Regions from separate parts of the Homo sapiens genome. Here region 2 is linked to region 1. The links are contacts of gene promoters, found by promoter capture Hi-C in blood cells and fetal thymus (Javierre and others, 2016). All regions are on one chromosome and are shown on one strand. The core of a region is centred on a gene start or on the middle of the fragment in contact, and the rest is flanking DNA. Distances in the headings are between cores, read along the strand shown.

Region 1 (7,495 bases), core at 3,478-5,977:
ATTCAAGCAATAGTCCTGCCTTAGCCTCCGGAGTAGGTGGGATTACAGGCTTCCGCCACAATGCCCGGCTAATTTTTTGTATTTTTAGTAGAGATGGGGTTTCTCCATGTTGGCCAAACTGGCCTCGAACTCCTGACCTCGTGATCCGCCTGCCTCAGCCTCCCAAAGTGCTGGGACTATAGGCATGAACCACCACGCACGGCCCACTACACTATTTTAGTAAGGAAGATAAAGTTACACCTTGTAACTTGGGGTCACGGAAGTTTTAGATTTTTTCTTTTTCTTTTTTTTTTCTTTTGAGACGGAGTCTCTGTCGTTCAGGCTGGAGTGCAATGGCACTATCTCGGCTCACTGCAACCTGTGCCTCTGGGGTTCAAGCGATTTTCCTGCCTCAGCCTCCCGAGTAGCTGGGATCACAGGCATGTTCCACCATGCCCGGCTAATTTGGTATTTTTAGTAGAGATGGGGTTTCTCCATGTTGGTCAGGCTGGTCTCGAACTCCTGACCTTAGGTGATCTACCCACCTAGGCCTCCCAAAGTGCTGGGATTACAGGCGTCAGCCACCACGCCCAGCGCTAATTTTTAAATCTTTTGCAGAGACAGAGTCTCACTACGTTGCCCAGGCTGGTCACGAACTCCTGGCCTCAAATGGTCCTCTGCCTTGGCCTCCCCAAGTGCTGAGTTTACAGGCATGAGACACCACGTTTGGCCTTTCCCCAGATATTTTTGTTCTTCGGATGGTTGAATTCCTAGATGCTGAACCCTTGGATATTGAGGACCAATATTGAGCAGGAGAGGGCTGTGGGGTTAATAGAGGATTTTCTTTTCTTTTTTAAGAGGAAAATTTTATTCTTACTGAGATGGAGTCTGGCTCCCCTAGGCTGGAGTGCAATGGTTGAATCTCACTGCAACCTCCGCCTCCCAGACCCAAGCAATCCTCGCTCTTCAGCCTCCCAAGTAGCTGGGACTACAGATGCGGGCCACCACACCCGGCTAATTTTTTGGTAATTTTTTTGTACAGACGGGTTTTCACCATGTGGCCCAGCTTGGTCTCAAACTCCGCCTACTCCACCTCCCAAAGTGATGACATTACAGGCGTGAGTCACCGTACCTGGCCTGAACATTTTTTTTTTAATTAAAAAAATTTTTTTGAGACACAGTCTCACTCGGTTCCTTAGGCTGCGGTGTAGTGTAGTCTAGGCTCACTGCAACCTCTGCCTCCTGGGTTCAAGTGATTCTCCCACCTCAGCCTCCCAAGTAGGTGGGACCACAGGTGTGCACCACCACATCCAGCTAATTTTTTTTTTTTTTTTTGAGATGGAGTCTTGCTCTGTCGCCCAGGCTGGAGTGCAGTGGCATGGTCTCGGCTCACTGCAACCTCCACCTCCTGGGTTCACGCCGTTCTCCTGCCTCAGCCTCCTGTGTACCTGGGACTACAGGCGCCCGCCACCATGCCCAGCTAATTTTTTGTATTTTTAGTAGAGACGGGGTTTCACCGTGTTAGCCAGGATGGTCTCGATCTCCTGACCTCGTGATCCACCCGCCTTGGCCTCCCAAAGTGCTGAGATTACAGGCGTGAGCCACCAGGCCCAACCCTTATTTATTTATTTATTTTTCTTTTTGAGATGGAGCCTTGCTCTGTCACCCAGGCTGGATTGCAGTGGCGCAATCTTGGCTCACTACAACCTCCACCTCCCGGGTTCAATTGATTGTCCCACCTCAGCCCCCCAAGTAGCTGGGACTACAGGCACCCGCCACCATGCCCGGCTAATTTTTTGTATTTTTAGTAGAGATGGGGTTTCACCGTGTTAGCCAGAATGGTCTCGATCTCCTGACCTTATGATCTGCCCACCTCGGCTTCCCAAAGTGCTGGGATTACAGGTGTGACCCACTGTGCCTGGCCTATTTATTTATTTTTTCTTTTTTTCCTTTTTTTTTTGAGACAGAGTCTCGCTCTGTCGCCAAGGCTGGAGTGCAGTGGCGCGATCTCGGCTCACTGCAAGCTCCGCTTCCCAGTTCATGCCATTCTCCTGCCTCGGCCTCCCGTGTAGCTGGGACTACAGGCGCCCACCACCACGCCCAGCCAATTTTTTTGTATTTTTGTATTTTTTTTTTTTGAGATGGAGTCTCGCTCTGTCCCCAGGCTGGAGTGCAGTGGCACCGTCTTGGCTCACTGCAAGCTCTGCCTCCGGGCTTCACGCCATTCTCCCGCCTCAGCCTCCCAAGTAGCTGGGACTGCAGGGGCCCGCCACCATGCCCGGCTAATTTTTTATATTTTTAGTAGAGATGAGGTTTCACCGTGTTAGCCAGGATGGTCTCGATTTCCTGACCTCGTGATCCGCCCACCTCGACCTCCCAAAGTGCTGGGATTACAGGCCTGAGCCACCGCGCCCGGCCCTATTTATTTTTTTAATTGAGATGGAGTCTCACTCTGTTATCCAGGCTGGAGTGCAGTGGTGCGATCTCGGCTCATTGTAACCTCCGTTCCTGGGTTCAAGCGATTTTCCTGCCTCAGCCTCCTGAGTAGCTGGGACTACAGGTGCATGCCACCATGCCCAGATAATTTTTGTATTTTTTCAGTAGAGACAGGGTTTCACCGTGTTGGCCAGGCTGGTCTCGAATTCCTGGCTTCAAGTGATCCGCCCGCCTTAACCTCCCAAAGTGCTGGGTTTACAGGCATGAGCTATCTTGCCTGGCCACTATTTTTTAGATTTTTTGTAGAGATGAGTCTCCCTATGTTGCCCAGGCTGGTCTCTAACTCCTGGGCTCAAGCAATCCTCCCAACCTGGCCTCCCAAAATGTTGGGATTACAAGCATAAGTCACTATGCCCAGCTTTATTTTTAATTTTTTTTTCTTTTGAGACGGAGTCTCGCTCTGTCGCCCAGGCTGGAATGCAGTGGCTTGATCTCGGCTCACTGCAAGCTCCGCCTCCCGGGTTCACGCCATTCTCTTGCCTCAGCCTCCTGAGTAGCTGGGACTACAGGCGCCCGCCACCACGCCCGGCTAATTTTTTGTATTTTTAGTGAGACGGGGTTTCACCGTGTTAGCCAGGATGGTCTCGATCTCCTGACCTCATGATCCGCCCGCCTCGGCCTCCCAAAGTGCTGGGATTACAGGCGTGAGCCACTGCACCTGGCCTATTTAAATTTTTTTAACATTCCTCATTGAGCACTCAACTTGTCTTTTTTTCTTCTCTTTTTCCCCCTTACGTTGTATCTTGGGCCTTATGTGTCCAAACTCTGAAGAGAGGAGACCAGCGCTGGAGTTGAGAGAGAAAAAAGAGCCATGGTGATGAGGAGAGAGTTTAGTCCTGTACCTCCTCTTGCCTGCTGCTTTCAAGTCTGTTTTGTTGAATTCTCAGGACTCGATTGAGCTTAGTCTCTTGTCAGGCTATGCCAAAGCAGCACAGTAGTCTAGGGACTGACAGTTGGGCCTCACTGGACTTTAGTGGTTTTCTTTTACCAGTTTGAAAAAGGGCCAGGCTCACAGTGAGAGCTGGAAAGCAGGGGACTATTTGCCTGCGAATTCCTCAATAGCATACACGCGATGCCTAGAACATTTCTGTCCAATAAACAGCATGTGCTTGATAAACATACTGAACTTAGCGGTGTCCCCAGTGCATTCTAGGCGAGGTCACCTCCTTGACAAGGTCCCCAGGACTTCATTGCACCTCCTAGCTAGTAGCGTATTCTAGGATGGCAAAGCTGCCTTTACATAATTACCCCCGATACATTCTAGACACGATCATCTTGAAAGAGACCCAAATTTTACCAGGCATGGTGACTCAGGCCTGTAATCCCAGCACTTTGGGAGGCCGGGGCGGGCGAATCATCTGAGGTCAGGAGTTCGAGACCAGCCTGGCCAACATGGTGAAACCCCGTCTCTACTAAAAATACAAAAGTTAGCCAGGCGTGGTGGTGCAAGCCTGTAATCCCAGCTAGTCAGGAGGCTGAGGCAGGAGAATCGTTTGAACCCGGGAGGCGGAGGTTGCAGTGAGCTGAGATCGCGCCACTGCACTCCAGCCTGGGCAACAAGAGCAAAACTCCGTCTCAAAAAAAAAAAAAAAAAAAAAAGACCCAGGCTGGGCGCGGTGGCTCATGCTTGTAATCCCAGCGCTTTAGAAGGCTGAGGTGGGTGGATCACCTGAGGTCGGGAGTTCGAGACCAGCCTGACCAACATGATAAAACCCCGTCTCTACTAAAAATACAAAATTAGCTGGGCGTGGTGGTGCATGCCTGTAATCCCAGCTACTCGGGAGGCTGAGGCAGGAGAATCGCTTGAACCCGGGAGGCGGAGGTTGTTTGAGCCGAGATCACGCCATTGCACTCCAACCTGGACAACAAGAGCGAAACTTCGACTCAGAAAAAAAAAAAAAAAGACCCAAATTTATCATCAGTGGTCACCTCAGAGCACCTGAATTCAGGCCTTTAAGTGCAAGTAGGATGCAGAATTCTGGAAGAGCCAGTAAGTCTGTGGCTCCTTGGGGAAGCGCGATCCAAGGGTTTAGTAACCTAGGCACGGTACTCCAGAGGCGTACCCTGAGGCAGCCGCCAAATTCTCTAAGCCTCAGAATTCTTCAAGGCCAGCTCCCATGTCCACTAGAGACCCAGGGGTCCAGACCATCAGGCACTGAGGAAGACGCCCCCGGCAGGGGCTGCGCAGGCGCGTGCGGCCCGAAAGGGCCCAGGCGCTACACGCTGCGCAGGCGCAGGAGCGGCTCCGGGTAGTCCCCACAGCTGCGCCGGTGACTGAGGGGCCGGGCAGTGGAGAAGTGGTGGCGGCGGGCGGCGGGCGGCAAAGGAGCAGCCATGAGGGCCGGGCCCAGTCACCGACCGTGAGTAGTGGTGGAGGGGGAGTGGACAACGCGTGGGAAGAGGGTAACTTAGCGGAAGGATACATGACTTTGTGGGGTGGGCTCTGACTGTGGGAGACGGAAGGGCGTGGGGGAGGTACAGTTTGAGGTGATGATGGGAGAATTTGGGGCACGGGTGGCCCGGTCGCCGGCCGCAGAGCTGGACAGCTTGGTGGAGGGGGACGGGGTTGCGTGCTGTGGAGTGAAGCAGCCCATTTGTATCATCCCTTCCTCCAGGAGCTTTTGGTCGCCTCTCCTTTCCGCTTCTTTCAGAGAATGATTGCGGGGGGAGGGTGGTGGAGGATGAAAGCTCTGCTGGAGCTTAAGAAGCCACCTCTGAACCAGGCAGGGGAAGGGTCGGTCTCCCGGAGTAATAGGCTGCTCTGGGTAGAGGATGGGAGTCGGGAACCCTCTTTTGAAAGCCGGGAGGGGTCTAGGGAAAAGAGCTAGGGGCTTAGAGTCAGGCAGGTTCGAAAGGAAGTCCACCATTGATAAAGCTGTTAGGTAACCTTGGGCAGGTCCCACTTAACCTTTCTGAACACCAGGAAGATGTCATGCTTCAAACGGGCTATTGCAAGCATCACCTATGTAATTGAGATTGTTTATGCAAATTGTGAATTGTAAGTACTATGTTGATGTTAATGTATCACCAACAATGTTAGTGGAATTTAGACCTTACCGTTGTTAATGGAATGACTGATTTCTCTGTTAAGATAAGAAGCGTATTGTTTGTAAAACCTCAGTAGACACATATGTGCTTTCTTTATGGGCACAGCAGACCATGTGCAGAACTACCAGTTCTGTAATGTGATAAATTAGCCATCAGACTTCTGTAGGAAAAATACCGTACTCCGGCGTTTTTACAAACGGTTTGCAGCTCCTCACCCGAAAGGATGGAGGGCCAATCTATTAAAATATTTTCTGAACATAGCTAACTCATGTTGCCTTATAACACAGTTGGCACTAATGTGCTTTAACGAGTTGAGAAAAGGCCGGGTGCAGTGGCTCATGTCTGTAATCCCAGCACTTTGGGAGGCCGAGGCGGGCGGATCACGAGGTCAGAAGTTGGAGACCAGCCTAGCCAACGTAGTGAAATCCCGTCTCTACTAAAAATACAAAAAATCAGCCGGGTGTGGTGGCGGGCGCCTGTAATCCCAGCTGCTTGGGAAGCTGAGGCAGGGGAATCACTCGAACCCGGGAGGCAGAGGTTGCGGTGAGCCGAGATAGTGCTATTGCACTCCAGTTCGGGTGACAGTGCGAGACTCCGTCTGGAAAAAAGAGTTAAGAAAACTAGTTTGAGACAAGCTGGGAGGGCTGCCCAGTGAGGGATGTGAAAATATAATTTGTTTATTATATTTTATTTTATTTTTGAGACGGAGTCTCGCTCTGTCGCCAGGCAGGAGTGCAGTGGCATCATCTCGGCTCACAGCAACCTCCGCCTCCCGGGTTCAAGCGATTCTCCTGTCTCAGCCTCCTGAGTAGCTGGGATTACAAATGCCCACCACCACGCCTGGCTAATTTTTGTAGTTTTAGTAGAGATGGGGTTTCACCATGTTGGCCAGGCTGGTCTTGAACTCCTCACGTCAGGTGATCCACCCACCTCGGCCTCTCAAAGTGCCGGGATTACAGGCGTGAGCCACCGTGCCTGGCTATTTTGTTATCTTTATTTTTATTTTATTTTATTATAATTTTTTTTGAGGTGGGTGAAGGAGTCTTGCTCTGTCACCCAGGCTGGAGTGCAGTGGTGCGAACTTGGTTCACTGCAACCTCCGCCTCCTGGGTTCAAGCAATTCTCCTGCCTCAGCCTCCCTAGTACCTGGGATTATAGGCACGTGCCACCATACCCGGCTAATTTTTGTATTTTTTTTAGTACACTCGGGGTTTCTCCATTGCTGGACAGGCTGGTCTCAAACTTCTGACCTCAGGTGATCCGCCCGCCCCAGCCTCCCAAAGTGCTGGGATTACAGGCGTGAACCACCGTGCTTGGCCCATTTTATTATTTTTAAATTATAAAAAGTTCTCCTTTGCAAAGGAGTCTCTGGCTGCTCCGGGGACCTGTCGCTGTTTTGGAGGTCAGATATGCATAAGGCAGCCCTCTAGCTCTGCTTTTTGTTACCCTGCTTGTCAGTGGGATCTCTCAGGTGGAATATCTCAGAAGAGGAGCCCAAGAGGTGTCTTGGTTTTCCTGAGAGGCTGAAGAAACACTCCTGAGACGTGTTTTTTAATGTAGACAAAGCAGAGGACAAACTATGTGTTTATGGAAAGAGAAAATGGGTTCTTTTTATTTTATTTTGTTTTGACACAGAGTCTTGTTCTGTCGCCCAGGCTGGAGTGCAGTAGCGCAATCTCGGCTCATTGCAACCTCCACCTCCCGGGTTCAAGCAGTTCTCCTGCCTCAGCCTCCAAGTAGTTGCGATTACAGGCACCCACCACCATGCCCGGCTAGTTTTTGTATTTTTAGTAGAGATGGGGTTTCGCCATTTTGGTCAGGCTGGTTTCGAACCAGGTGATCCGCCTGCCTCGGCCTCCCAAAGTGCTGGGATCACAGGCGTAAGCCACCAAGCGCAGTGAGAAAATGGTTTCTAAAGTAGAGATGCAGACTCCTTTTAAAAGGACATAGACACTTCAGCTTTGCTGACTCT
Region 2 (6,921 bases), core at 1,118-3,617, 82 kb before region 1:
AAACCCAGTGTTAATAGCTCTGGATTTGGCTTCTCTCTCTAAGGTGTGGGAAGGGATGGTCACTCCTTAGGTTATTATGAGTGATGCTGACTTAGGCATTTTGGAGGAGACAACCCTAGCAGTCCTGCAGGACTGGCCACAATAGGAGTTTAGGAACATGCAAACCTAGCTAGGCTTTTCCTACTGCCTCAAAGGGCTAGTTATTTAGTCTTGCCCTTGTCTGTTCCCCACAGTAACCCTCCACTGAGTGAAGAAATGTTGCCTCCTGGAGAGTGGATGTGTCACCGGTGCACTGTTCGCCGAAAGGTAATAATGCTGCTTTCTGAAGACTGTCCAGAAAGCCTGATCCAGAGCACTGATATGCTAGAGCTAAGACGGCCTAGCCCTGAAGGCATTCTTGTCCCTTCTTCTTGTCTCTTCCAGCCCTGGAATCACCCCACTCTTCCCATGGTGACTGTTTGGAATCCAGTAGGGCCTAAAAATCCAAACATGGGCTGCTGAAATGGGCAGAAGAGGTGTGTTAACTTACTGAGCCATGTTTAGTCACTAGTGACAGGAGTAGTCTTACCTTCTTGTTGTCCTCCTAATAAGTGGCCTTATCCATGGCTGAAAAACAAAGGCTGCTTCTCCAGCTTGATGGAAAATGGAGTTTTCTCTCACCCCAGGGCAAATAAGTCACTGGTATCCAGAGACTTGGCATACTGACGGAGAGGATTTTGAACGCATTTGTACCCCAAGTTGCCTAATCTTTCTTTAGCTTCCCTTCCTTCAGCTTTGATAATTCAGTACTGGCTTCAAGAACATGGTTTATTATTTTCTACTTTGAGAACTCTTGTGGGTAACAAGAGCTAAATTCTCCCTTATTAAAAAAGGAAGTAGGTGTGCTTGCACCCAAATTATGATTGACCCAACCCTCAAATTACAGGCTATGGATTAGAATTTGTCTGTGCATTGTAATCCACCCCCCTGTGCTCCCCACACTAATTATACACCAAGCAACTTTCCTATGTTGTGACCTCACCTCTATTTGCCTGGTCCCCGAACATGATGTCACAATGAATGATGACTTCCTTGGTTGCAGAAACAGGATGAGATGATTAAGATTGTGGTTTATGTGTGTAACAGTTTCAGCCTTTAAGAAAGAAAGTAAACAAGCAGACATTATTTTTCAAATACGTGCATAAGGGTTCATATTTAAAAGCAAGCCAAAGCCAGGTCAACCACCTAACCACAGCTGTAGTTAAATTTCTCCATAAACCAGGCTGTCTTCCAGCCTCTCCACCTTCCAAGATCCTTTCCTGTGCATCCCTAATTAGGTTAGAGCAGGGCCTGTTAGAGGCACCTGCCAGCCAGGAGCCCTCTCAAACTTGCCACTCAAAAAAGCTGGACCTGAAAAGGTTTAGGGGAGCTGAAGGAAAAGGGGTAAAGACGGTGGAGAAAAGGAAATATTATGTTAGTGCCCATCGTGTGCCAGGTGTTTTAATTACGTTATCCCATTATCTATCCATCCAGCCATAGATGGATACCGAATGCTGGCCGTAGGTTTCCATTTTAGAAAGGAAGAAACGGAGGCTCAAAAATGTAGATTAACTTTCCCAAGGACTCAAAGGTATTGACAGAACCAATGTTTGAACCAAATTCTCTCATTCCAAACCTCTGTTACCTCTTCATCAGTTTTCTAGAAGGAGAGCTACTTGTTGGGGATTACAGTATGCCCTTTTCTAACATGGCACTTCTCCTGAGATGCCTCTCTTACCTTTCACATGGACCTCTGCCTACCAGTGCCAAGTCTGCCTTTTCCACCATCACCAGCACTACTCCCCTTTGGCCTCTTGTATTTACACTGAAGTGGATTGAAATAATACATCCTCTGGCCTTCATCAGCTCCTGACATTCAGGCCCTATCATGATTCGTAGTGGAAGACTAGGTCCTACTCCAACTCCAAATTATCCCTTTCGTATATATGACCCTTTTTATCTCCCTCCACCATATCCCTGAGAGGAGGAGGAGAAAGATTTTTCTGTCTCATTTTACAGATGAAGAAATTCCTGCCCACCAGCCTGAGTCACCACAAGGTCAGAGGGGATCCGTGGCAGAAATAGGACAAGATCACAGGTCTCCTACCTGGAGATCAGTGTTAAACCTTCATTTGACCACTCTATTTGGAGTCCTGGAGGAAAATGTACTATCAGATATCCAGTCCTACTGAGTACACTTAATCTTTTTCCATTTCCCCACTTTCTAAGAAGTGTCACTTATTTTGAGCAAAGTTTTTATTTTTAAAACCATTCAGGAGGTCAGAAGGCTCTATAGTGATCTCACTGATTTTTTTTTTTTTTTTTTTTGAGATGGAATCTTGCTCTGTCGCCCAAGCTGGAGTGCAATGGCGCAATCTCAGTTCACTGCAATCTTTGCCTCCCAGGTTCAAGCGATTCTCCTGCCTCAGCCTCCTGAGTAGCTGGGATTACAGGCACATGCCACCACACCCAGCTAATTTTTGTGTTTTTAGTAGAGATGGGGTTTCACCATGTTGGCCAGGCTGGTCTTGAACTCCTGACCTCAGGTGATCTGCCTGCCTCGGCCTCCCAAAGTGCTGGGATTACAGACGTGAGCCACCGTGCCTGCCCCATTGATTTTTACTATTGGTCTCACTAAATTTATTCTCACTGTGTTACCTTTTTAGCCCTTTACCCTATACTTTATAGATGTTGTATGTCATACAATGAGTTAATGTTAATGATATATATTTTGTATAGTTATTCCTAACTTACCATGCTTTTTGGTGATTCTCTGATGCAACAGTTTTGTCAGCTTTAGTTCAGTTAGAGTTGTGTCAACTTTAACAGACCAGTGTTCCAAGTGACCAGGTAGATGAGTCTGTGATATGTGAAGGCCTTTTACAGTTTTGATTAGTGGTCTACCAGGACTTTGTAGCACCCATCTCTTTGTTTCATGGTACTTTTCATGATGGGCCCACCTGTTCATTTGCACAGAAACGAGAGCAGAAAAAGGAGCTGGGTCATGTCAATGGACTGGTGGACAAATCTGGCAAACGGACTACATCCCCCAGCAGTGACACTGACTTGTTGGACAGATCGGCCAGCAAAACTGAACTAAAGGCCATTGCCCATGCCCGGATCCTGGAAAGGAGAGCCAGCAGGCCTGGCACACCCACATCCAGCGCCAGCACAGAGACTCCCACCTCTGAGCAGAATGATGTCGACGAAGACATCATTGACGTGGATGAGGAACCAGTAGCAGCGGAGCCAGACTATGTGCAGCCCCAGCTGAGGCGGCCCTTTGAGCTGCTGATTGCTGCCGCCATGGAGCGGAACCCCACCCAATTTCAGTTGCCCAATGAACTGACTTGTACCACTGCACTACCAGGTCAGCCAAACCATCATCATATCCCTTCCCAACCCCAGTTTCCCCAAAGGACCAGCACAAGAGCAGTGCTGCCTGTGGAGTCACTGTTCATGTAGCTACTGTCTTGGGTTCCTGTTCCTAGTTCTGCTTGGAGAGATCTTTGAAGGTCTTAGCCATTACAGAGCTTACTCAGTTTTCCATTTTCTCAGTTTCTGAACTTCTTTCCTTCCCCTCCCCCAGAATTATCTTTTTCCTTTTTTTTTTTTTTTTTTTTTTGTGAGTCTCACTTTGTCACTCAGGCTAGAGTGCAGTGGCACGATCTCGGCTCATTGCAACCTCCGCCTCCCAGGTTCAGGCGATTCTCGTGCTTCAGCCTTCCAAGTAGCTGGGACTACAGGCGCATGCTACCATGCCTGGCTAATTTTTGTATTTTCAGTAGAGACAGGATTTTACCATGTTGTTCAGGCTGGTCTTGAACTCCTGACCTCAGGTGATCTGCCCACCTCGGCCTCCCGAAGTGCTGGGATTACAGGTGCGAGTCACCACGCCCGGCCCCAGAATTATCTTTTAAAAAAAAAAAGTATTATACATTCACATGGTTCAAAAATCAAAAAATATTAAGGGCTACAATGAAAATTTCCCTCCCACCCGTCTGCCATTTGCCTACTTTCCACCTTCCTGCTCTTCACAGGTAACCACTGGTTGATTCTTGTTTATTCTTCTCAAATTTCTTTGTGCATGTAAAAGCAAATACAGATATATGCTGATTAATTTTCCCTTAAGTAACATGCTAGTTAAACCATTCTACACGTTGCTTTTTTTTTCTCACTTTAAAATATGTTCTAGAAGTCTTTTCATATTAATATAGAATTTTTTTTTTTTTGAGACAGAGGCTGCACTGCACTGTGGTGCAGTGGTGTGACCACAGCTCAAGCAATCCTCCCACCTCAGCCTCCCAAGTAGCTGGGACCACAGTTGTACACCACCACACTCAGCTAATTTTTATATTTTTTATAAAGACAGGGTCTCACTATGTTGCCAGGGCTGGTCTCAAATTGTGCTCACACGATCCTCCCGCCTCAGAGGATCCCAAAGTGCTGGGATTATAGGCATGAGCCACTGCGCCTGGCCTTCTTGCTTTTTTTAATGGTTGCATAGTAGTTCTTTGTACAGATACGTCATAATTTATTTAACCAGTGCCATTTTCTATTAATGGACATTTTCTATTAATGGACATTTAGGTTCCAAATCTTTCATTACTACTGGTAGTGCTTCAGAGAATAACTTTGTAAATACATCATTATATACATGTATAGATGTGTGACTATGTCTATAGGACAATAAAATTGCTGGGTCAAAACTATATAGTTTTGATAGATATTGCCAAATTGTCCTCCATTCTTTTTTTTTAAGTCCTGGCTTCTTGATACTGTAAAGCTTCTAGGTCTTAGTTTTTATTCCCAAAGAAAGTGAAATTGGTAGGCTTAAGAAGGATGCATATAGAATCAAAGCTTCTCTGATTTTTATGAAAATGTGGGCCAGGTGTGGTGGCTCACACCTGTAATCCTAGTACTTTGAGAGATCAAGGCAGGAGGATTGCTTAAGGCCAGGAATTGGAGACCAGTCTTGGCAACATAATGAGACCCCATCTCTCAAAAAATAAAAATAAAAAAGTTAGCTGAGTTTGATGGCCCACACCTGTAGTCCTGGCTCATATGGAGGCTGAGGCAGGAAAGTTGCTTGAGCCCAGTAGTTCAAGACTGCAGGCCAACTCCACAGAATAGTCCTTGTTGACTATGTGGCTTGGACATTTACATTTCTTAGGTTGCCTGTATCTAACCTAGCATTTCTGACCATTTTATGTTTGCAAAACAGTTAGATGTGTTTCTGCCATAGAACAGGTGACTTCTGGTTCTGACTTACGTATTAGTCTCTTTTTTTTTCCTCCCTAATCTTTCTTTTTTCTAACTTAAAATCAACCCCAGGGGCCTCAGAGAGCAATTCATGCTTAGGCCATGACACATGCTTAAGATCTGTTTTTGTCACTTAATGTTGTTTCCATATTGCAGGCTAGGAACTCTGAAGCCAGGGATAGCTCAGCACCATCATTTTCTTTTCTAGGTTCTAGCAAGAGGAGAAGAAAGGAGGAAACCACAGGGAAAAATGTTAAGAAGACACAGCATGAATTAGATCACAATGGTCTCGTTCCCTTACCCGTCAAAGTCTGCTTCACGTGTAACAGGTATTTTCTTTCATACTAAGGGGCTCTTTCTCATTATTTAGCAGATGATACTTTTTCTCTCATCACCTCTTCCAGACCATGTATGTTAAATGTGAACAGCCCATATTCTGATAGTATGAGTACATGGAGACTAACTAATGGACTGACGAGAGCCTTGAATGTGTATGTGTTAACAAATTTTCTGAAGAATCACAGTACAGGAGTACTGTGAACTGTGTTGAGGCCGAGCACGGTGGCTTATGCCTGTAATCGCAGCAATCTGGGAGGCCGAGGCGGTCAGATTGTTTGAACCTGGGAGCTTGAGACCAACCTGGGCAACACAGTGAAACCTTGTCTCTACAAAAAAAAATTTTTTTAATGAACCAGGTATGGTGATACGCACCTGTAGTCCCAGCTACTCCAGAGGCTTAAGCAGATTAGCCCTGGAGGCTAAACTGTGATCACGCCACTGCACTCCAGCCTGGTCAACAGAGCGAGACCCTGTATTTTAAAACAAAAACAAGGGGCCGGGCGCTGTGGCACATGCCTGTAATCCCAACACTTTGGGAGGCCGAGGCAGGCTGATCACAAGGTCAGGATATTGAGACCATCCTGGCTAACATGGTGAAACCCTGTCTCAACTAAAAATTCAAACAAACAAAAAAAAATTAGCCGGGCATGGTGGCAGGCATCTGTAATCCCAGCTACTCTGAAGGCTGAGGCAGGAGAATGGCATGAACCTGGGAGGCGGAGCTTGCAGTGAGCCAAGATCGCGCCACTGCACTCCAGCCTGGGCGACAGAGCAAGACTCCGTCTCAAAAAAATAAATAAAAATAAATAAAAACAATGGCCCGGTGTGGTGGCTCACGCCTGTAATCCCAACACTTTGGGAGGCCGAGGCGGGCAGATCATGAGGTCAGGAGATCAAGACCATCCTGGTCAACATGGTGAAACTCCATCTCTACTAAAAATACAAAAATTAGCTGGGTGTGGTGGCACGCACCTGTAGTCCCAGCTACTCAGGAGGCTGAGGCAGGAGAATCACTTGAACCCAGGAGGCGGAGGTTGCAGTGAGCTGAGGTCACGCCACTGCACTCTAGCCTGGTGACAGACCAAGACTCCATCTCAAAAAAACTGTGTTTACACACTAGAACAAGAGGAGTTGGACTTAAACTAAACATTAACTTGAATCACTAAAGATAAGTTTAAAAGTAGTATAAGGATCTATGATAGTGTGTATTGGACTGGATGACTTCCAAAAGCCCCTAGGGCTGCCCCAGTTATAGTCTCTGGGACACTGGTTTCCTTCAAATAGGATCTCTTTGACAGAAAC

What was found. The method cuts DNA at HindIII sites, captures the fragments that hold promoters and counts their contacts. A CHiCAGO score of 5 or more calls a contact.
Region 2: a contact is called between a fragment that was not itself captured here and the fragment with the promoter of FAM222B in region 1, in 1 of 17 cell types (activated CD4 T cells). The highest score is 6.2, in activated CD4 T cells.

Annotation. Positions count from the first base shown.
Region 1 is chr17:28,840,022-28,847,516 of GRCh38, reverse strand. FAM222B (family with sequence similarity 222 member B) reads left to right here and starts at 4,727. Exons shown (of 3, transcript NM_001077498.3): 1 at 4,727-4,835. RefSeq lists a silencer at 4,759-4,948 and an enhancer at 4,634-5,148. The HindIII fragment of the contact is 18,789 bases long and covers 1-7,495 here.
Region 2 is chr17:28,920,376-28,927,296 of GRCh38, reverse strand. It overlaps PHF12 (PHD finger protein 12), which reads left to right. Exons shown (of 15, transcript NM_001033561.2): 3 at 234-306; 4 at 2,995-3,388; 5 at 5,489-5,609. LOC101927018 (a long non-coding RNA gene) reads right to left here and starts at 1,022. Exons shown (of 2, transcript NR_110803.1): 1 at 569-1,022. RefSeq lists enhancers at 1,021-1,200, 1,221-1,270. The HindIII fragment of the contact is 4,879 bases long and covers 1-4,806 here.